Regions from separate parts of the Homo sapiens genome. Here all the other regions are linked to region 2. The links are contacts of gene promoters, found by promoter capture Hi-C in blood cells and fetal thymus (Javierre and others, 2016). All regions are on one chromosome and are shown on one strand. The core of a region is centred on a gene start or on the middle of the fragment in contact, and the rest is flanking DNA. Distances in the headings are between cores, read along the strand shown.

What was found. Contacts are between HindIII fragments. The CHiCAGO score rates a contact against its expected background, and 5 or more counts as called.
Region 1: a fragment that was not itself captured here is called in contact with the fragment with the promoter of LINC00853 in region 2 in 1 of 17 cell types (erythroblasts); the score reaches 6.6 in erythroblasts.
Region 3: a contact is called between a fragment that was not itself captured here and the fragment with the promoter of LINC00853 in region 2, in 1 of 17 cell types (erythroblasts). The highest score is 6.2, in erythroblasts.
Region 4: a fragment that was not itself captured here is called in contact with the fragment with the promoter of LINC00853 in region 2 in 9 of 17 cell types (naive B cells, naive CD4 T cells, total B cells and 6 more); the score reaches 11.1 in naive B cells.
Region 5: a fragment that was not itself captured here is called in contact with the fragment with the promoter of LINC00853 in region 2 in 1 of 17 cell types (erythroblasts); the score reaches 6.4 in erythroblasts.
Region 6: a contact is called between a fragment that was not itself captured here and the fragment with the promoter of LINC00853 in region 2, in 2 of 17 cell types (activated CD4 T cells and naive CD4 T cells). The highest score is 5.6, in activated CD4 T cells.
Region 7: the fragment with the promoter of FAAH here is called in contact with the fragment with the promoter of LINC00853 in region 2 in 2 of 17 cell types (endothelial precursors and total CD4 T cells); the score reaches 7.5 in endothelial precursors.

The regions. Positions count from the first base shown.
Region 1 is chr1:46,519,744-46,522,443 of GRCh38, reverse strand. No RefSeq gene overlaps it. Among named protein-coding and RNA genes, the nearest start is that of TMEM275, 14 kb to the left of the region's middle. RefSeq lists an enhancer at 1-224 and a cis regulatory region at 1-268. The HindIII fragment of the contact is 2,873 bases long and covers 1-2,700 here.
Region 2 is chr1:47,177,580-47,180,597 of GRCh38, reverse strand. LINC00853 (long intergenic non-protein coding RNA 853) reads right to left here and starts at 1,348. Exons shown (of 2, transcript NR_047498.1): 1 at 1,160-1,348; 2 at 259-730. CYP4A22-AS1 (CYP4A22 antisense RNA 1) reads left to right here and starts at 975. Exons shown (of 6, transcript NR_199717.1): 1 at 975-1,408; 2 at 2,149-2,473. RefSeq lists an enhancer at 976-1,477. The HindIII fragment of the contact is 3,617 bases long and covers 602-3,018 here.
Region 3 is chr1:46,438,019-46,440,835 of GRCh38, reverse strand. It overlaps the pseudogene FAAHP1. Among named protein-coding and RNA genes, the nearest start is that of LINC01398, 10 kb to the left of the region's middle. The HindIII fragment of the contact is 3,272 bases long and covers 1-2,817 here.
Region 4 is chr1:47,748,820-47,751,599 of GRCh38, reverse strand. No RefSeq gene overlaps it. Among named protein-coding and RNA genes, the nearest start is that of LINC01738, 62 kb to the right of the region's middle. The HindIII fragment of the contact is 6,160 bases long and covers 1-2,780 here.
Region 5 is chr1:46,340,920-46,343,986 of GRCh38, reverse strand. The region is part of intron 1 of NSUN4 (NOP2/Sun RNA methyltransferase 4); the gene reads right to left. Among named protein-coding and RNA genes, the nearest start is that of NSUN4, 1.6 kb to the right of the region's middle. RefSeq lists an enhancer at 1,893-1,982. The HindIII fragment of the contact is 4,077 bases long and covers 1-3,067 here.
Region 6 is chr1:47,767,773-47,770,812 of GRCh38, reverse strand. The region is part of intron 6 of TRABD2B (TraB domain containing 2B); the gene reads left to right. Among named protein-coding and RNA genes, the nearest start is that of LINC01738, 81 kb to the right of the region's middle. The HindIII fragment of the contact is 3,260 bases long and covers 1-3,040 here.
Region 7 is chr1:46,393,035-46,395,799 of GRCh38, reverse strand. FAAH (fatty acid amide hydrolase) reads right to left here and starts at 1,483. Exons shown (of 15, transcript NM_001441.3): 1 at 1,257-1,483. The coding sequence starts at 1,451. RefSeq lists an enhancer at 1,082-1,595. The HindIII fragment of the contact is 1,150 bases long and covers 561-1,710 here.

The DNA.
Region 1 (2,700 bases), core at 178-2,677, 660 kb after region 2:
CTTCCATTATTACCGCACTCAACTCCCACAAGCCTGGGGGTAGACAGAGACCTCCCCATTTTACAGATGATGAAACAGAGGTTCCCAGAAGCCTAGCAGCTTATTAAATAGTCCACAGTGAGTCAGTGCTAGAAATGAAACTGTGACTGACTTGGCACCAGTCACAGACTGAGCCGGCCCTGCCCCAAACTGAGTCCTGCCATGGCCCATTCTGAGCTCCAACTCTGACCTCTAATCGAGCTGTGTCTTGCCCTAGATTGATCCTGAATCTAGCCTCAGATTGCCCCTCCTGTTAGCCGTAAGCCCTTCGAGGTCAGAGACGTGTGCACTTCTCATTCACCCCTGCTCCTTTACGTGGATATATGTGTGATTATTTGAGTAATCTCCATTTTATCCATTAGACTATATATAGGGCCAGGAACTGAGTCTACTTTTGTTTAGTGGCACTTATCATAATGTAATAAGTGCAATAATAACAAGCAAGTATTGGCCGGGCGTCGTGGCTCATGCCTGTAATCCCAGCACTTTGGGAGGCCAAGGTGGGTGGATCACTTGAGCTCAGGAGCTAGAGACCAGCTTGGGCATAACAGTGAGACCTCATCTCAAATAATAAAAGTAAAAACAAATTTAAAAAAAAAAAACAAGCAAGTATTGAGCATTTACTAAATGCCAAAATTGTGCTAAGTGTTTTACAGATGTTATCTTTTATTCCTAACAAAGAACCCTGAAGTAGGCATTATCATTCGCCCCACTTTACCAAGGAGAATACTGAGCCCCAAGGTGACACTAGGAGGAGGTGTGTATAGGATGCTCTTGGTAGTTCCCTCCACCCCTCACACTCAGTTGCCTGATGAGGAATGGGGTGGAGAAGGAAACCGTGGCTGGAAGAGGAAGTGGTGGCCCTTGGGCAGGTGGGAGAAGCAGAGGGCTTTCTGGAGGCCTTGGGTTTCTGAAGCCACAGAAGGGCCAGTGACTTAGCTGAAAGAGATGGGGTGGGCTGGGCACTGTGGCTTACACCTGTAATCCCTGCACTTGGGGAGGCTGAGGCAGGCGGATCACCTGAGGTCAGGAGTTCGAGACCAGCCTGGCCAACATAGTGAAACCCCCTGTCTCTACTAAAAATACAAAAAAATTAGCCAGGTGTGGTGGCAGGCGCCTGTAATCCCAGCTGCTTGGGAGGCTGAGGCAGGAGAATTGCTTGAACCTAGGAGGCAGAGGTTGCAGTGAGCTAAGATCACACCATTTCATTCCAGCCTGGGCAACAAATGCAAAACTCTGTCTCAAATAAATACATAAATAAATAGAAATGGGGTGGGAGTGAGACCAGCTATATATTTTATGGGGTCCAGGGCAAAATGAAAATGCAGGGCCCCTTGCTTAAAATGTAAAGATTTCAAGATGGTGACATCAGAACATTGCGGGCCCTCTGAGCCCAGGGCCCTGTGTGACTGCATGGGTCACACGCCCATGAGGCTGCTGCAGGAGGGAGCATGCTGTGAAGAGGTGGGCTCAAGGCAGCCCCTTGGGGTGGATGTGTGGGTTGGTGCACATGGGTGTTCACATGGCAGCTGGGACCAGTGTCTGACTCTTATGTGGGCATTTGGGTGGCATCTTCCACAATCACAGGGCAGCCGCCACCAAGTCTCTGTGGGCACCAGGCCAGCAGTTTGGCTCGAGAGGCTGTCTGTACAGGGGAGCTGGTGCCACTGAGCATTCAGGGGCTGTCTGGAGTGTGAGCAAGCCGGGAAGAATGCATGTCTGGGGGTGGAGCGGGTGTGTGGAGCATCAGGCGACAGAGCGTGGCTGTGTGTCTGCCGGTTTGCAGTGGGGCTGTGTACACAGGCATGAGAGACAGGGAGACAGACACCCTGGGATTGTGTGGTCCAGTGCAGAAGTCAACATGTCCCAGGGGTGTGAGAGGATGCGTGTGTGCGTGTGTGCTGTGAATGTATGGGGAATGTGTGTGAGAGGCTGTCAGTGTGTGGGGGCGTGTATGCCTATTCCCACGTGCCTTCCTGGGTGCTGGCCCTTGCTGTCTTCCTTATTGTGAGGCCTCCCAGGTGAAGACCTCTCCAGCCTGCCTCAGCCCAGCCCCCAGGCCTTTGTGGGACCAGGTCCCCTCTCAGAGCGACATTCCTGCCTGCCGTGGGGTGGGCAGCCCCACAGAGCTGCCTCCTAGGCTGCTGGGGTGATCCCTGGCCAGTGGTGTCAGGTTCCCAGTGCTGAGCCCTCCCTCTGCAACCCTCTGAGGGCCTTTGTTGGAAGTTCAGACACACTTGTCAGGGGGGCGGGTAGAAGGCCACCTCCTAATCGGCTTTCCCAGAAGCTAAAGGAGAATGAGTGATGGGGGTGGAGGGCTCCAGCCCAGAGCAGCTCTGTGGGAAAGAGATGAGGGAAGTGCCCAGCCCTAAAGGGGTCCATTCCCCAGACCCTCTCAGCAGGGGCCCCTTCCCTGAGGGCCCCTAAGGAACCAGACCCCTGAGCTGCAAGAACATTGGCCAAGGCCTAAGAGAAGGGGGAACTACCGGGCGCCATGGCTCAGCCAGGCGGTGGCTCACGCCTGTAATCCCAGCACTTTGGGAAGCAAAGGCAGGTGGATCACCTGAGGTCAAGAGTCTGAGACCAGCCTGGCCAACATGGTGAAACCCGTCTCTACTAAAAATACAAAAAATTAGCCAGGAGTGGTGGTCAGCGCCTGTA
Region 2 (3,018 bases), core at 99-2,598:
TTGTTTTCCCCTCTCCCACCTAAAACATGTAAGTTTCATAGGGTTACATTATAGGTTATACCCAAACTCAGGCAGAAAAGAAAAGCCTCCACCCAGCAACTGCACAGTTGAGGGAAGACTGCAGCACTGCTTACTTCATTTAGACTTGAAGAGGAACTTCCAGCCAGGAGTTGGCTTTGAAAACAGGCTGTGGAGTTCCGTCTCCAGAGTGCCAGGTGGTCAAGGGGAGTTTCAAGATTACTGCCGTCATACTCAGAGTGACACATGCAGAAATACTATCTGTTTATTGTGCTTCAAGGATCCATTAGATCAGGACTATTGCTGGGCAAAGCCTCTTCCCGCAGCCTAGGGGTAGTAAAGGTGGGGGTAGAGGTGCTGGGGCTGGGGCCAGAATCACACACAGTCTGCTCTGGCCTCTACCCACCTTCACAGGGAAGTCAGGTGGCTGAAGCCAGCAGAACTTGCTCTGGGACCAGGGTGGAGGCACCTGCCTCCCATCCAGACCTGGCTGGAGGGTCTTGACTCCCTAGCTTGGCTCTCCTCCCAGGGTTTTTTTTTTTTTTTTTTTTTGTCCCTGGCAGTGCAGGGGTGGCCAAAAGCTTGAGCTTGGGAATCATGCCGATTGGTTCAAATTCCAGCCTGCTCCTCGATGCTTGTGGGATCGCCTAGCCTTTCAGATCTTCCATTCCTTTGCCGGTAAAATTGGCTCTATAGTACATTCCTTGCAGGGCTGCTGGGAGGAAACAGAGATGACATCCGTGTTATTATTGCTCCTGAGACTTGCCAGAAAGCCCTCCATGATCAGCGTAGATGCCATTTCTTCCCAGATGCTCCTTTCCCCACTCCTGGGTTCAGCACTTCCTCCGGGCAACTTCAGCCCCTGCTCCTCCCTCTCTTTGCACCCGCCCCACCTGCCCCACTCACTCCACCCACCCCAGGGTGCTGTCTACTTGTCTGCATCCTGCTCCTGCCCTGGGTCTGGGAGCTCCTCAAGGGCAGGAATGGAGTGACTTCCCTCTCTGTGCACCCAGGACAGGGCTGGACAGGAGAAGGGAAGCCCAAGGAGTGGTGAAGAGCCCCGAAGGAAGGGACTAAACTCCAGCCATCTGTCCCGCGGTGTCTGTTCATACTCCTCCTCCGTGCACGGGCTCAGACATACATATGCGCATATGCTCTGTCTCTTTCTGGTTGAAGGTCCTGGGAGCCCTCCGGAACTCTGCTGCCTGGCAGTCCTTCAGTTTCGGGAGCTTTTCTGTCTGCCCGTGGCCTCGGCTGCCACCTGGTGGCTGCACGCTCCAAAGGAAGCGTAGATTGATGAGAGCCTCGGAAGTTGAGCTTCAGGCGCGGCTCTTCCCCGTCACACTGGGACCGGACGCATTTCCATGGCGTGGTCCCAGGAACCTCTCAGGTCATGCCAGCAACTGGGACTTCCTGTGGAATGCAAGGGCAGTGGGGCCTCCGCGAGAGAGAGAGAGAGAGAGAGAGAGAGAAGAGAGAGATATTAAGGATGAATCCCAGTGTCTGCTCTGAGCAAATTGGAAGACGATGGCATCAGGGGCACTGCTCTGGGCTATATAGACTGTGCCTCCACTAAAGGGTCCCTGAGACCAGGTGTGGGCCCGTATCCCTGGAGGGAGAGGTAACTTCCTCTGATTCGAAGGCATCATATAGGCTAGTGAATGGCACTGAGAATGGCAGATGCCAGGGACAAGCAGGAGCATGTGTGGGATGAGGATGCGGCGTGGATGTGTGACGTTTCAGAGCCTGCAACACATCCGTAGGGAAGTCCTGGAGGAGCAGTTGGGTGCATGGTGGAGTTCTGAAACAGCTGGGCAGTCGGCACTTGAGCCAGAGATTCTGCTTTCGACCTGGATGCCCATTGAGAGGTTAAGAGCTCAGGTCTGGGTCAGGCAGCTTGGAAGCAGCACAGCTTGGACACTTGGTAGCCTGGGACTGTGGTTAAATCAACGTGACTCTCGGAGCTCCAGTTCACTGTAAATTAGGGCAGTAAATGATGTCTACATGATAAGTGGTGTTATGAATGTTAAACATTCACATGAAATACATAGAATAGTGCTTAGCATACAGTACACAATAACTGTTAGCTATTTGGAAAATTACTATTGTTATTATGATTATTTATTACAGAGTGAACTGAATTGGATGCAAGATCACGGTGCGTCAGAGCTAGCAAGATCCTTAGGATCATTTAGCCTGGTTTACTAATATTACACTATGGAATTTAAGCCCAAGGAATGGAGAGTACCCGACGAGCGTTATGTAAGGAGTCGAGTGAGAAGTAAGCTGGATGCTCTGCTTGGCTGGCAGGTACAGAATGTGCCAGACCCATCTGTACCAGCCTGGATCTCTTGAGGCATCAGCACAATGGACCTGGCCACACCAGTTTATTCCACACCGCTGAGGCTGGTACAGTTCTGGACATGGACTTTGTAAATAAATAACTGGGCCTTTGGTCAGTTCTAGCTGTGAGCTTGGAGGTATGGGGTGGGATGGTGAGGACAGGTGGGGGCAAAGTGAGGAAAGGGGCAGGGAGGAGAGGGGAGAGAGAAAAAGGGGAATGAGACAGGCTGAGCTAGTGAGCTGGAATTGGAGGTTGGGAACAGGCTTTCCTTGATGGTGGTGGTGCTGTTTTCTTTTTAATTTTAATTTAATTTTATTTTAAGTTCCAGGCTACATGTGCAGGATGTACAGGTTTGTTACATAGGTAAAAACATGGTGGTTTGCTGCAACTGTCAACCCATCACCTAGATATTAAGCCCAGCATGCATTAGCTATTTATCCTGATGCTCTCCCCACCCCTGCCCCAACAGGCCCCACTGTATGTTGTTCCCCTCTTTTTTGTTCACTTAAAAGATCCCACTTTTAAGTGAGAGTATGCAGTGTTTGGTTTTCTGTTCCTGTGTTACTTTGCTGAGGATAATGGCCTCCAGCTCCATCCATGTCCCTGCAAAGTACATGATCTCATTCCTTTTTATGTCTGCATAGTATTCCATGGTA
Region 3 (2,817 bases), core at 250-2,749, 740 kb after region 2:
GCCCCCCCACCCAGGTCCAGCTGGGCCTTCTCTGCAGGCCAGTTCATAACTCTGACCACTCAGGGCACTACCCAGGTGTCTGCAGCCCCAGCTCCAGCAGCCCCTCAAGGTCTTCCCAGACAGGCATTACCTCCACTGCTGTGTGCTGTTCCCACAGTTTCTTGGGTGTCCTGAAAGAATGAGGAAGACTCTGACAAGTTCAAAGGTCAGCATGGGAGGGAACCCTTTTATACAAATGGGGACATGACAACCAAGGCCTCAGTGCACGCTGCAAATCAGCTGATGGGCTGGGAGTGACCCCGTGTCTTGTCCCCTGGCCAAGACATCTTGCCTGCTCAAGGTCCCCAAGAGCACACATCCTCTGGTCAATCTACCCCCCATTCCACCAGTCACAGGAACTCATGGGCTGCCTCAAAGGCCACAGGCTCCTTACCCTAATCTGTGAGGCACCCAGTTAGCCCTCAGTCCACTCCAGCCCAATTCTGCCCAGCATCTTCATGCCAACCCCACCAGGCCAAGCCCAACAGCAAACCCAAGCCCATACCAGCCTCTCCCAACCTCATCTCTAACCCTAACTCTAGCCCCACCCCAACTCCAGCCTCAGTCCCAACCCTCTTCCAAATCTATCTTCGCCCCACCAACCCCAACTCAAACCAACTCCAACCCCAGCCTCAGTCTTAAGCCCATCCCCAAATAAAACCTAATCTCAACTTCAGTCCCAAATTTTACCTCAACCTAGCCTTAATTCAGATTTTTTTTTCCCTTGAGACAGAGTCTATCTCTATCACCCAGGCTAGAGTGCAGTGGCACCATCTTGGCCCACTGCAAGCTCCACCTCCTGGGTTCAAGTGATTCTCGTGCCTCAGCCTCCCGAGTAGCTGGGATAAAGACACATACCACCACACCCGCTGATTTTTGTATTTTTAGTAGGGACAGGGTTTCATCATGTTGTCCTGGCTGGTCTTGAACCCCTGGCCTCAAGTGATCCTCCCCGCTCAGCCTCCCAAAGTGCTGGGATTACAGGCATGAGCCACCACACCCGGCCTTAATTCAGATCTTAACTCCAAATAAAGTCCCAACACCAATCAAAAGTCTCAATCTAAGCTAATGTCAGGCATGATCCTAAAACCCTAATTAGAGTCCGAAATCTAAATAGATCCCCCCTTAGTGGATACCAGCTCTAGCCTCATGCCCCTCCTCAATTCCCACCATCCCATGGACAACCATTGGAGCAAGAGCTGGCCCTAGGGAGACTCACCCCACTCCACGAATCTCTTCAAGATGCTGGCTAGTTTGGGGATCCTAGAGGGGGGCTGAGAGGGGGAGTCCAACTTCAGAACCCACAGGGAAACAGTCAGCCTGCCCAGGAGGGGGTCCAAGAAGGGTAGCATTGCTCAACGCACTGACGTGGAACCCTCCGATCCTCAACAAGCCTACACCACTTCACCAAGCCCTGAGCTCACACTGGCCCTGTAGCCCTCCAAATGCCCTTCCCCCTTTCTGAGCCTCCTCTCTGAAACCCCCTCCCCTCTCTGTGAGCACCCTACTCTTTTAGCCCCATCCCCTTCTTTCATTATTTGTTTTAATTAATTTTTTTTTATTTTTTTTGAGTCAGAGTCTTACTTGTCACCCAAGCTGGAGTGCAGTGCATAATCTCAGCTCACTGCAGCCTTGATCTTCTGGGCTCAAGTGATACTCCCACCTCAGCCTCCTGAGTAGCTGGGACCACAGGCATGCACCACCATGCCCAGCTATTTTTTTTTCCATTCTTTTTAGAGAATGGAGTCTCACTATGTTGCCCAGGCTGGTCTCAGACTCCTGGGCTCAAGTGATCTTCCTACCTTGGCCTCCCAAAGTGCTGGGATTACATACATGAGCCACTGTGCACCCAGCCCTTCATTCTTCTTCCCCATTTTGAACCCCTCTCTGAGCTACCACCATTCTCTGGGCCTCATCCTCCTCTCTGACCCCACTTCCACTCCTTCTGTGAGCTCCCTCTGCTTTCTGAGCCCCTCCTACTCCCTGTGCTCCCTGCCCTTCCAAAGCCCTCCCTGACTAGGGCCTGCACTTACTATGTACTTTGGGATCCAGGCCAAGAAACATTTGAAGGGGTCTGGCAGGCAGAGCTGGTTGACCATGCCCTTTATGCTGGGATCCACAATGTCCCCCTCTCTGAGGAACCAGTCGCAGATGGGTAAGTCACAGCCCTTAGCCAGTGGCCTGCCCCCACAGCCACCCAACTTCCACGCCGTAGACAAGAAGGAGGCCAAACCCAAAGATGTACTTCTGCCCCACCCCCGGAACAGGTGCATCCTAAAGACAGGCCCAGTGTGTGGTTTGCGGCATAAGGTCACACTATTAGGCAGAGGCACCCCAGCCCAGGCCCCCAGTTTCCCTCCTGGGACTCAGGTTGGCTCCAGCCCACTCCCCTACCTTGTTTCCACCATGCCCCACCCCTGAGTCCCAGCAGATAACGTATAGCTTCTCTAGAAGAGTGGCCCCTCCATCAGTAAACATCCCCCCGTGTACAAGTCTTTGATGGCGTATTCTGCCTGGGGGATGGAGAAGGGGATAACCTGGGGAGGCAGAGGCAGAGTCAGTGTCTGGAGCTTCCCCGACCCTGCCTGGTTCTCTGTCTCTGCATCCCCCAAGATTTCAAGAAGGATGCCACATCATCTCGTGCATCTCCGTCCACCTCAGCGCCTCAGCATGGCATGGGAGGCCTGTGTCACTGGTTGCTCTCCTGCCACCCCACTCCCTCACCCTCACACACAGATGTGACAGAACAGAACGAGAGCAGCCCTCATTTCCTTCATG
Region 4 (2,780 bases), core at 121-2,620, 570 kb before region 2:
TTCTAGGCTTAAGATCAGAAAACACCTTTCCCTTCTTGGCTAATCCAGCATTGGACACCAGGTAGGTACTGAACCAACAGTAACCGGATGCTTTTCATGAGAATGCAACTTTATATAACTTGAATAACCATACACAGGAAGTGGATGGAGTCAATATTACCTCTACAAATCTGCTTTGGGAATTTGTTATTATGTAACACAGGAAGTATCATTTTACTGGGCAGTGAGGGATCCATTTTCAGGGTGCGCTCCAAGCAGGAAGTGATTTCATTCAAAGGATCCGCTATTATGTCCATAGAGTGCAGAAGAGTTACTCTTGGCAGAGGGCACAAAGAGACAGGACAGATAATTAAGGAGATAAAACGAGTGGTAGAACAGGCAGGTTCTGAGATCAGACAGGTCTGGGGGCAAACCCCAGTTCTGCTATTTACAAGCTGTTTGCCCCTGTGCAAGTGACTCAACCTCCTCCTGAATCTCAGTTTTGTTATCTGTAAATGGGAATGATGATAATATGTATCCTGCAAGGTTGTTGTGAGATGCAAATAAGATAGTGATGCTCGAGATACACTAAGTGTTATTATCAAAGACAGCCATGCAGGCCAGGCAAATGGCAGGAGGGAATGGTACCTGGATTAGCAAGAAGCACTGACATCCAGTCTAGGTTGGAGGAAATGAAGACTCCTCAGAAACATACAAATAAGGGCTTCCGTTTATTGAGGGCTTGCTATGTGCCACCTGGCACCTGAAGAACAAATCAATCTAAACAACATACTTGAGAGTGAAGGCCATTGCCTCTGCTTTACAGATCAGGAAACTGAGATCCAGAACGGTTAAATGATTTGCTCATGGTCACCCAGCCAATGTCAGACTCCAGAACTGCAGACTTAACCATTCTTCTATGCTGAAGATAAAAGTTGAGCATTTGAGTTGAGAAAGTTAATATGTTATATAACAGAATATTACTTGGAACTTTTCCTGGTATCTGGAAGTCACATCTGAGGCTCCAAAGCTGAAGATAGTATGTTCCCATTCAGAAGAAGGCAGCCAGTCCACTCATGCAGGACTTGCTGAGGGATAGCAAAACTGATTTGGAACCTCATATGCCCCCACCCTCTCACCTTTCCCCAACCAGCCAACCAATGGGCCAGATTGAAGCCAGCCATCCTCAGGGTATGAGGAGTGGACTGTCAGAGCAGAAGCTGCAAGGGGGTTGGAAGACACCAGCCAGGGAGAGCTTTGCCCACACCAAGGAAGAGCACAGTGGCTCTGAAAAAACCCACATATAAGCCCCTAGTCAGGGAAAGAGCTGGCATTTGGATGTCTCCACACAGAGGGCACCAATGTCCTCCTTTCCTTTCATTTCACCTCCCACCCATCCTTGCAGGAGCCAGAAGCAGCCTCCAGAGGGGACAAGAGGCTTGGGCTTTCCCTGAGCTAAGGGGAAACAAACACTTTGAATTTGGTGAAAAATTCAGATTGATTTTGATCAGATGAGAGTTTTTTGTAGATGAAAAGGAGATAGTGTCCCTGATAGTGACAAGGAAAGCTATTGAATCTACATGAGAGGCCCTCCAGGGATGGGGACGTGGTCTGCCATATAGCCAGTCAAAAGGGCAGTGGGAGTTGGAAAAAAATTAAAGTTATTTTCTCTTGGTGCCCCAATGAGTCCAACTGGATCAATAGCGGGCTACATTTGGAAACCAGGCCACTGGAGTAGGCCACACAAGTAGCAACCAGGCGGGGCAAGGAGAAAAGGAATTCAAACCAGACCGTCACTGGGATTCTGCCCTCAGGTACCATGGCAATCATTCTTTCCAGTTCATTTGTAAGGAGGTATTGGAGACCCATCTCAGAAGCCACTGATGGGGCACGTCAGAGCAATTAAATATGATTGTGTTAAGTACATAGTAAGCTGTGTATAATTTTCATTCTAGGGTATGGCTCAAACACTCCCCAGATGAAAGTTCTGAGTTGTTTTTTTTTTTAGCCTGCAAATTTTGTTATGTGGATATAACTTAACTGGGTAGATCATCAGAGTCCAGATTCTGGAGCCCAGAGAGAACCAAGTCAGCATCCAGCACCCACCACTATGGGGTGGTACATTTTATCAAGGGATTCTCCATGAAAGATTCTCAAAAGTGACATATCTCTGACTTAAAGTAAGATCTTGATTCACAAACTTGGCACTCAAGTTCACATTTCCCATGCAAAGGCTGGTATGAAACATCCATTAATACCCATTAATATCCATTATCTTAGGGCCTCATTTTTCTGGTGTTCTCATGCAGGGCACTGTACATAAATTGTCTCATGCACTTCTCCAGTGAGGTCAGTGCTACTGACCCTGTTTTATAGACATGGACACTGAGCTTTTGAAGGTGAGTCACCTCTTCCAGAACTCGCACCTAAGAAGTGGCTGCAAGGTTGGGAATTAAGACCCATAAGACTCTAAACCTGTGCTTTCTCAACTACCCTAAGCCAGGGGCTGACCTAGCCCCAGCCCCAGCCCTGACTTTTGGAAACTAAAATGTTGCCATGTCCAGATCTTAACCACCCCCAGTCCCGAGCCCAACTCCATCTTTCAAAGAATCTTCCTCCTCCTCCGACCCCCATCACACTACAATACCTGCCCTCTCTTACAGCACATGGCAGTCTGACTAATGTAATGATATTTACAGGTAGCCAGATCTTTTTTTTTTTTTTTTTTTAATGGCTCCCTTGGTCTAAGTCCTTTTCTCTGTCCACACTCACTCCCCCGGTGACCTTAGCCCATTTCATGG
Region 5 (3,067 bases), core at 323-2,822, 840 kb after region 2:
CTAGATTTTTGGTCTGGTCAGAACTTTTGCTCTGGCCCTCATTTCTTGTTATGGTGAGGACTCTTGCTCTGTGACTTTTGCCTCGCTGGGACTCTTGCTCTGGCTCCTGCTATGTTGGGGACTCTTGCTCTGGCCTTGACCTTTGCCATGTTGGGGACTCTTGCTCCGGTTCCGACTTTTGCCATCATAGACTCTTGCTCTTGCCCTGACCTCTGCTAATTTGGGGACTCTCACCCTGGTGCTCATTTATGCTAAGTTGGGGACTCTCACTCTGGCCCTGACTTGTGTTTTGTTGAGGATTACTGCTCCGGCCCCAGCTTCTGCTAGGATAGGGACTGCTTTTCTGACTTGGACTTCTGCTCAGATGATGCCTCTTGCTCCAGCTCTGACTTCTGCCATCATGGGGACTCTTGCTTTGGCTCCGGCTTTGGCTTTGGTGGGAACTCCTGCTCTCGCTGTCACTACTCTGGCATTTGCTAATAATAGTCGAACTACAGCTGGGATTGGTGCTACAGCTGGAATCCTTGGATGAAGGCAAAGGGCAGCTGTAGGGGATCTGCAGAGGCTCTTTGCAAGGGCCTTGAGAGGCCACAGGGTAGATATGGAGGCCACAGGGGACAGTATCAGGGTAGGCCCGGACTCGGGGGACAATGGGTAAACTTTGAGGATCAAAGGGTGTTCTCAAAGGGATAAAAGAATAGATGTGGGTAGAACAAGGAGGCATCACAGGCTGACAACGAGGTTGGGGTGGGCCCCTGGGAGTGCTATAGGTGTCACACAGGGGCACAATGGGAGGGGGGCCTGTCGAATGATTGAGGGAGCCAGACAGTGGGCAGGGATGGGGGGTGGAGGGAACCACAGAGCATATATGGGTATTGCAGGGGGGCCCTATGGAGGGTCCATGGCGGCTGCTCTGAGCATAACTATTGGCCGAGACAGGATCACAAGGAAGGCAGAGGGGAAAAGAAGTGGGGATAACACTTTTGAGAGCTCTAGGGACCACAGTCAGTAAGGTAGTCCCTGGGGGAAGTTCTTTGGGGCTGGAATTTGAAGGAGTTGTGATGTATGGCTGCATACAAGAAGGACCAGAGAGGCAGGAGGGAGGTGGGGGACAGGTGTGGGCCTTAGCGGGCTTGGGCTGGCCAGAAGGGGTGTGCTGGGGAGTGTTGACTAGGGAGAGACATTTGTGGGGAGTATGTGACTGTCTTAACTCTGGGGACTTAGGGGACTTCGGTTGGGGGGAAACTGGAGTGGGAAGAGGGGGTTCATTATAGCTTCTGCGGGGAAGTGACTGGGGTGGAGATATAAACTGGTTGCCCAGGGGTGAAGGGAAGGAAAGGACAGAATGAGGACCATGGGGACGAGATGGTTCCTGGGAACAGGGGGGACCAGAAGTTGTGGTGTCCGGGGTTAGGATGAGGTAAGAGTTCCCAGTTGCCTCCCAGGAGAGAAGGGACTCAATGCAAGCCTTCCTGGGAGCCTGGGACTGGGGTGAGCAAGGAGAATCAGTACTCCCGGGGCACAGGCAGATGGCATAGCAAGGACTCCCAGGGGTAGGTATGTAGGCCTCTGAGGAAAGATGGGAGTAATGATAAGAGCCCTCCTGAGGTGAGCTGGGAGAGCCAGGCATGCCTGCCTGAGAAGAGAGTGGGAAGCCACAACAATTTTTCTCAAGGGGCAGGTCAAGCTGTGGTTTGGGTTCACAAGAGTCTAGAGGCTTAAGGCTGCCATGGTAAAAGCTGCCAGTAGGTGGGGAAGATGCTGGGGAGAGAAGGGGGTCATTATAACTTCTCCCTGAGAACCAGTGAGAGGGCAGAGAGATCATCAGCCCAGTTTCCAAAACTCTGTGAGAAAGGGTTGGGGAGGCCATAGGACTAGTTTCCACCGGCCGGCGAGCAAGAGGAGGTGAAATCGTGAGGCAAGTTCCCGGGGTCCTATGTGTAGGAGGAGGCGAAATCATGGGTCCAGTTTCCAAGGGTACATGAGTGAGCTGAGGGGAGGTCACTGGGCTCGTTCCCGGGGACTGATGAGCAAGGGGAAAGGAGGTTGCCGGGCTGGTTCCAAAAGCTGAAGGCCATCCGCTAGAGTAACAGAGATTAGTGTGCTGGTCACAGTACGTGCCTTGAAGACAGGGACGCCGCATTCTGGAGGGACTCATCCAGCTGCAATAAGGTGTCCGCTGACAGAGAGGGGGTGACCCCGGAATGCTGAACTGCTCAAAATAAGGGCTGGAGAGTGGGGAACCCGAGTGGCAGGGCTAGCGGCAGTAGGTCCTTTCCAGGAGTGGGGAAGAGGACTCAAAAGACCATCTCCCTGAGTGCGAGGAAGGTTGTGGGGGTGGAAGAGATGGTGGAGGTGGCGAGGGAATCGGCTGGGGTGGGCAGGGGGGCGTGCCGGTCATAGAAGAAATTCCAGGGCTTCCAGTGAGGCAAGAAAAAGGGTCTCTGGAGAAGCAAGGAGAGTCCAGAGGATGAGAGGATTCGTTGCACCTTTTGCCAGGGTTTGGGCCGGCAGTATGGACAGGGTGGTCGCTGTAACCTTGCCCGGTCGCCAGAGGCAGCTCGAGGTTGAGGAAGGGGCTGAATCCTTTCCTGCAAGGCGGCGGAGACCCAGGAGTGCAGGCAAGGTCGCTATGGTATTTTCCGAGGGGTGAGGGCGACCGGGCTGGAAAATCAATGAGGAAAGGAGAAGTCATGTGGGGGAAGAATGGGCAAGGGAAAGGGGGAGGGGAGGGAGGGAAGTAAAAGGGGGAGTGGGGGACAGAAAGGTAGGTGGACACAGCTGGGGAACAAGAGACAGTGACATCACTAAAAGAATGAAGGCGAAGGTGATGACGCAACTTGGGCGGAGTCAGGAGACTGCAGACGTAACAAGTGGAAGACACTAACGCTCGGGACATAGAGTGCGGACAGAGGCGGTGACGGAAAAGACGAGAGAGGGAGGTGCCTAAGGACGTTCCGTGGAGTGCTTGGGAAAGACGCTAGGCGTTCTAGAGGGCCGGGAAACGGAAAGACTGGAGAAGTTTCCACCCTCACTTTTCCCTCCTGCGCCCCCAGCCGGACCTTAC
Region 6 (3,040 bases), core at 266-2,765, 590 kb before region 2:
GCCTTTGGCCAAACCCTTAAATGAGGCATTGGTTGGGTGCTGTGAACTTCCCCCAGTTTGACAGGAACATATTGGGCACATACTGCATTTAGTGCTAGTGAGGGACAGGAAGAGGAAAAGTCTCGTGTCATGGCCAGGGACAGATGGCTTCCAGTGTGGTGCCACTGAAGAGCCCTGGAGCCACAGTCCAGAGACCCTGCCTCAGCTCTCCTGAGTGATCTTGGTAAGTCCCGTTTCCTCTCTGGGCCCAGTTTCCCATCTGAGGGACAGACAGGCCCTTCCAGCTATGGTCTGCTATGAAGCTATTAGAAAACAAGCCTGTCTGCCCTGTGCCCAAGATGGAATTGATCAGTCATGGCCCAGTGAGGCTGAGCAAAGCGTGAAGGCATTCCCAGCACAGAAGACCATGTGGACAAAGGTGTGGAGGCGGGAGGAGCCCTAGATATCACAAAGTCCTAGATACCCAGAGCCGCAGGCAAACCAGTTGCTTTGGATCTCTCATCCGACCTGCTTGGCCCAGAGAGGCTGAGGCCCAGACTGGCATCACAACAGGGTCTCTGCTAAGTGATCACAGTGAGATCTCTATCCCCAGGCAGAGGGCCACCTGTGACCCAGGCCCTGTGTGCCCCAAATCCGGTCTCCTCAGGCTGAAAAGCTCTCTAAGGAGGTCAGTCAGGGTACAGCCCACCAGCCCCTTGTACCGGCAAGAAGGCTTGGGATGCCCAGATCCTAGACTGGGATGGCTCTCAGAGACCCTCTAGTGCCAAGACCCACCCCTGCTCCAGGGAGCCCCTTGGAGGTGCCTCATGGTCAGACAGCTGACAGTGTCTCAGACACACACAGCCTTGCTTTCTGCCTTGGGCTTCCACCTAAGATCTCGCTCTGGCTTCTGCTGCTAGTAAACATTTTAAAGTCCACGGGTCTGTTCCTGTTCATTGTGTTGATGGGGAAACCGAGGTCTAGAGGATAGCACTTGCCAAAGTCACACAGCAAGCCAGGAACGCACTACAGGCTAGAGCCAGGCTTCTGCCTTCTGCCCAAGCAGAGGGCCTCTTCCCCACTTTGGGGTCCCTGTTGACTCAGAGCCGATGCGGCCTCTTGGTGCCAGCCATCTGTGGAGCCTGGGAACACTTGCAGTGTTTGGTTTGGCTTTGAGGCCACTTTGCCATGAGACAGTTTCCCCCATTGTGAGCCTAGGAAGGGGTGGGGATCTGGACTGGGGGACTGAGCTTTGTGAGCAGAATCAGGCCCAGGAGGTGGGCTGGGGGCATTTGGAGGGGCTTGTCCTCCACACCCCCCACCCACCAGTCCTGCCCCATTTCTCTGGGACTCCTGCCAAGCAATAAAAAGCCCACTCAGGCTCCAAGCGGGAGTTTTCATCTTTGGTTTTCAAAGTGTGAAAGAAAATGCCTTTGGGCACCTTGTGAGACATAGTATTCATAACTCCTACTTGGTCTCGCCTTCTGATGGTGGGGGCCCCAGCTCCGGGCACCTCAAGGGGCACACCAGCCTGCTGTCCTGAAGCCAGCCCACCAAACCAACAGTTCCTCAGGCTGAAAGGATGGGGCAGCAGCTAGGAGGACGTTTTTATGGACTTCTTGTGTTTTGTATGTGGGTTTCTTTTTTTTTATTTTTGTTTTTGTTTTCATTAGAAAAGAAAGGGAGGAAAGGGGCTGAGGTAATGATCCCTGCCCGGCACAGGCACTAATCCCCTCCAGGGGCTGAGGCCAGATGAGGCCTCAGTGTCCCCGCCTGGCAAGCCTCCATCTGCGGGTTTGAGAGATCTCAGCCGGAAGCACCCACGCTTCGCTCATGGGCTCTCCATCAGGGGTTTGCTCATCTGTTCATTCAGGGACGGCTCCTTGGCCTGTCTCAGGCTGGGGAGACACTGTCTCTTGCAAGAAATCTGAAGTCCTTCAAGCTCAGTTTCCACACCTTAGAAAGGGGAATAATAATAACATAACACGTGTATAGCACCAAGCAATGTATGTCAGCACATTGTAAGTGCTCTATAAGTGGAAGGTGTTATTATTAGGAGAGACACAGACACAAAAATATTAATAATGATGCTAAAAATAGCCAACCTCTTCTAGCACTTCTTGTGTGCCAGGCACTGTTCAAAGCACGTTACATATAGAAACCCATGCAAACTACGTATAATAAATGGAGACCTACAACACAGAGAGGTCAATGAGAAATGTACAAGGTTTGGGAGAAGCCTTAACTGCCCCAAGTGGCATTGAGGGATGGAAGGCAGATCAAAGAAGCCCTCCAGGGGAAGGGCATTGAGTCTGGCCTTCGAAGGTGAGTAGGAAAATGGCAGCAAGACTGTAGGTGTGATGGAGAGGGTGGTATGTGTTGAGAGAACCATGAAAGGGGAGGGCAGTCAGGCCAGATCAGGCCGGCATGGGGTGGGAGGCACAACATGCTTGATTCTGTGGGTGTGTAAGGGACATTGGAAGCCACCTGGCCCTCCCCCCCCACTTCCACACACACACACTCTACTCAGAAACGCCATCCCTGCATCCTCTGGGTGGAACAAGAGTTTGCTCCCTCCCCTCCTGATAGTTCCTTGGAGTCTCTCTAAAGACAGAAGATCATGGCACATCACACCAGGTTGAAAGGAACCTTATGCAACTGCAGGGGGTGCTGAAGGCCAGAGCATCACCGGAAGAAAGTAAAGGGAGAGAGGGATGGGGCAGTGAGTGAGGACCCCTCTCTTTAATGACATACGTCAAGCCAGGACAGAGTGCCAGAGGCCGTTTGGACACCTGCTCCCAAGCCAAGAGCCCATGTGGAGTCAGGATATGCTTGGTGGCCCCGGGTTCCCTCCCCTGCCCACCTGGCCTAGCTGAAGCTGAGCCAGGGCTATGTGAGAGGCGTCTGGCCAGGACGGTGGCCTGGACTTAGTTCTGGTGGTGGTGATTACAGGCTGTCACCACTGTGATTATGGCCAGCTGTTAGGACCTCACGGCCCAGCCCGAGGAAATGCAGCCCGGAGTGACCCAGGGCAGCCTGTCGAGGTGGGGCAAGCAGTGGG
Region 7 (2,765 bases), core at 234-2,733, 780 kb after region 2:
CTCCACGAAAGTGTGGCTGCAGAGTGCAGCGGGCACCTAGGTTCTAGTTCCAGCTCTGCCCCAACTCAAAAATCACTTGCGGAACATCTGCTGAACACAATTTTCTGTGACTCTTTCTGTCTCCCACCCAGGCACACCCTCCTGAGTCCTGCGGTTCCCAACCTGTAAAGCCTTCCCACCTGTCAGGTCCCACAGATACAGCAAGCCCTCCCTCTCTCAGCACATAAGAAGGCTTTAACTGGGGTCAGTGTTTCACACACCCAGAGGAAAAGCCCCTCTTCAAGCCACATCTTCCAAACCCTCAGCCAGGCCCTTCCACGCCTCCAAACCCACATACTGAGGTGATCCAAAGGCAGCGCAGGGAGAAAAGCTTGTTGACAGACCACCCACGGAGGGCTGGAACTAAACCTGCTCATGGAAAGGGCTTGCCAGGGGTTGGACACCACAGCAGGAGCCAGAGAGACTTCCCTTCTAGCCTGGCTTTGCCAAGATCTCCCTGTGCACTTGGCAGGTTTCTTTCTGGCTCCCTCTTAGGATCCAAATGCACAAATCAAGAAGCTTGAACTCAGCCAGGCGCGGTGGCTCACGCCCAGCACTTTGGGAGGCCGAGGCAGGTGTATCAACTGAGGTCAGGCGTTTGAGATCAGCCTGGCCAACATGGTGAAACCCAGTCTCTACTAAAAATGCAAAAATTAGCCAGGCGTAGTGGCGGGCCCCTGTAATCCCAGCTACTGGGGATGCTGAGGCAGCAAGAATCGCTTGCACCCGGGAGGCGGAGGTTGCAGTGAGCCGAGATCGCACCACTGCACTCTTGCCTGGGAGTCAGAGCGAGACTCCGTCTCAAAACAAAACAAAAAAAAACAAAAAACAAAACTCTAAGCTCTCCAGATCCCCTTGGCCATTACACTCTGCGATTCCAAAGTCCTCAACCCCTGGCATCCCACTGGTTGTCACGCTTGCGTTTTCGCATTCCAATAGGCAGCAATCGTGAGATTCTTTGGCACAAAGCAAAACTCCTCTTTGACCCAGTGAGGGAAAGGCCTTCCACCACCTGCCTTGACACTACCGTTTCCTTTCTTCCCCCGTGCTCTACCTGGCTCAGAAAGTGCGGAATATCTTAGGGCAAGGAGAGATTCTGGAGAGTTACACATCTGCTCTGCCCGCCCCATCCCCTGTCCCTCGGCGGGTCCGGCGGCTGAAAGTGCCGCTGCGAGTACCCTCAGGCCGCGCCCATCCCACTACGCTCCGGCAGTCACCTGGAGCCGGAAGCGCTGCGCCGCCCTGTCCATGTTCTCCAGGCCCGCTCGCTGCCTCTGTCGCGCCCGGACCACCGCGCCCCGCGCCGTCCGGCGCCCGGACCAGCGCAGGGCCACGGCCGCCGCCACGAAGCAGCAGGCCAGGGCGACCCCGGAGGCGCCAGGCAGCGCGGCCCACAGCTCGTACTGCACCATGATCCCTTCAGCCTGCTGCTGCCTACCGCGACAGTTGAAGCCGCCGCACGCGCAGCCCGCCCGCTCCGCCGCAAAACCCGGACTGGATCAGCCGGGATCCCACGCCCGCCTGCGCGGGAGGGGCGGGGAAGCGCGCCAGAGCCTAGAGGCTATCAGAGGCGGCCCGCCTGGCATCGCCCCCAGCGACATCCCGCTCCCCGCCAAGCCGAGCAGGCGGGTGGGGAAGGGCGACTGTTTCTCGTGGGCGACCTCCCAAGCTTGAGTTTAGCACCGGTTGGGCACCACAGCCCCGGCCGTCCTCTGCCCCCTGCACCCCAGAGCCCCAAATGCTGAAGACTGCGCCCCAGCCGGAGCCCCATGCCAGACATGCCAGCTGTTAGATATGAGTTCTAAATTTATCTTAAAAGAATCAATATGTCAGTATCTTCAATTCTTTGCCTTCTACTTTTAAACTTAACTTCCTCATAAAGCAACATTTTTCGATTACCTGCTCCTCCCTCACTCATTCTTCACCGTGGTTCATTCCGATTTCCTGCTCTGCGGTAACCATTTTTCCCGCCAAACCACTCACCCCCTCACTGTCTTTAAATTAGCCAATCGGAATTAGTTTAGCCTATAGGTCTAACCCTAGCCAACAGGGGAAGGACACAGCATCAGGAATCACGTGGGTCAGGCATAAGAACCACCTTCCCCTCCCTTGTCCAGGTGTGCGCTCACCTTTGCTCCGTCTGTGAGGGCGCACCCTTCTATAGAAGTAAATTGCCTTGCTGAGAAGAAAAAAAAGAAAATTTTATATTCGAGTGCTATTTCTTTTGCGGCACTGGGGGGAAACTTTATTTATAACAATTTGGGGGCTTGCTCGTGATTACATTCCCCTTCAGGGGCAGTCTCTGGTTCTCTCTCCTGAGGAGGTATGCCCCACCCTCTTGTGATGGCCTCAGGGGTGAGAAATCAGGACTCACCCAGTGCAAGAAATAACCTGAGCTCTCAGCAATGTGAAAAGAAACCAGCAGGCAACCTAGGGTAAAGCATCCTCACACACTGCAGAGACAACTCTGTGCACAGACAAAGGAAGAAGCCGAGGGAGCCGGTAAGGTACTTCCTTGGTGGTCAAATTCTGGAGGGCTAAATGTGTGTGTGCGTGAATGATCACAAACAACCCTACCTGTGGTGTTGTTCGTGTGGATGATGACAAGTCCTACTGCTGGACGGAGTGAGTGGGTCCTCTCCACGTTTCCGTAGCTACCTCATATGGCTTAGGGAGGATCCTGCGGTGGGATTTCTACTGGAATGCCAATGCTGAGGGGGGCCTAA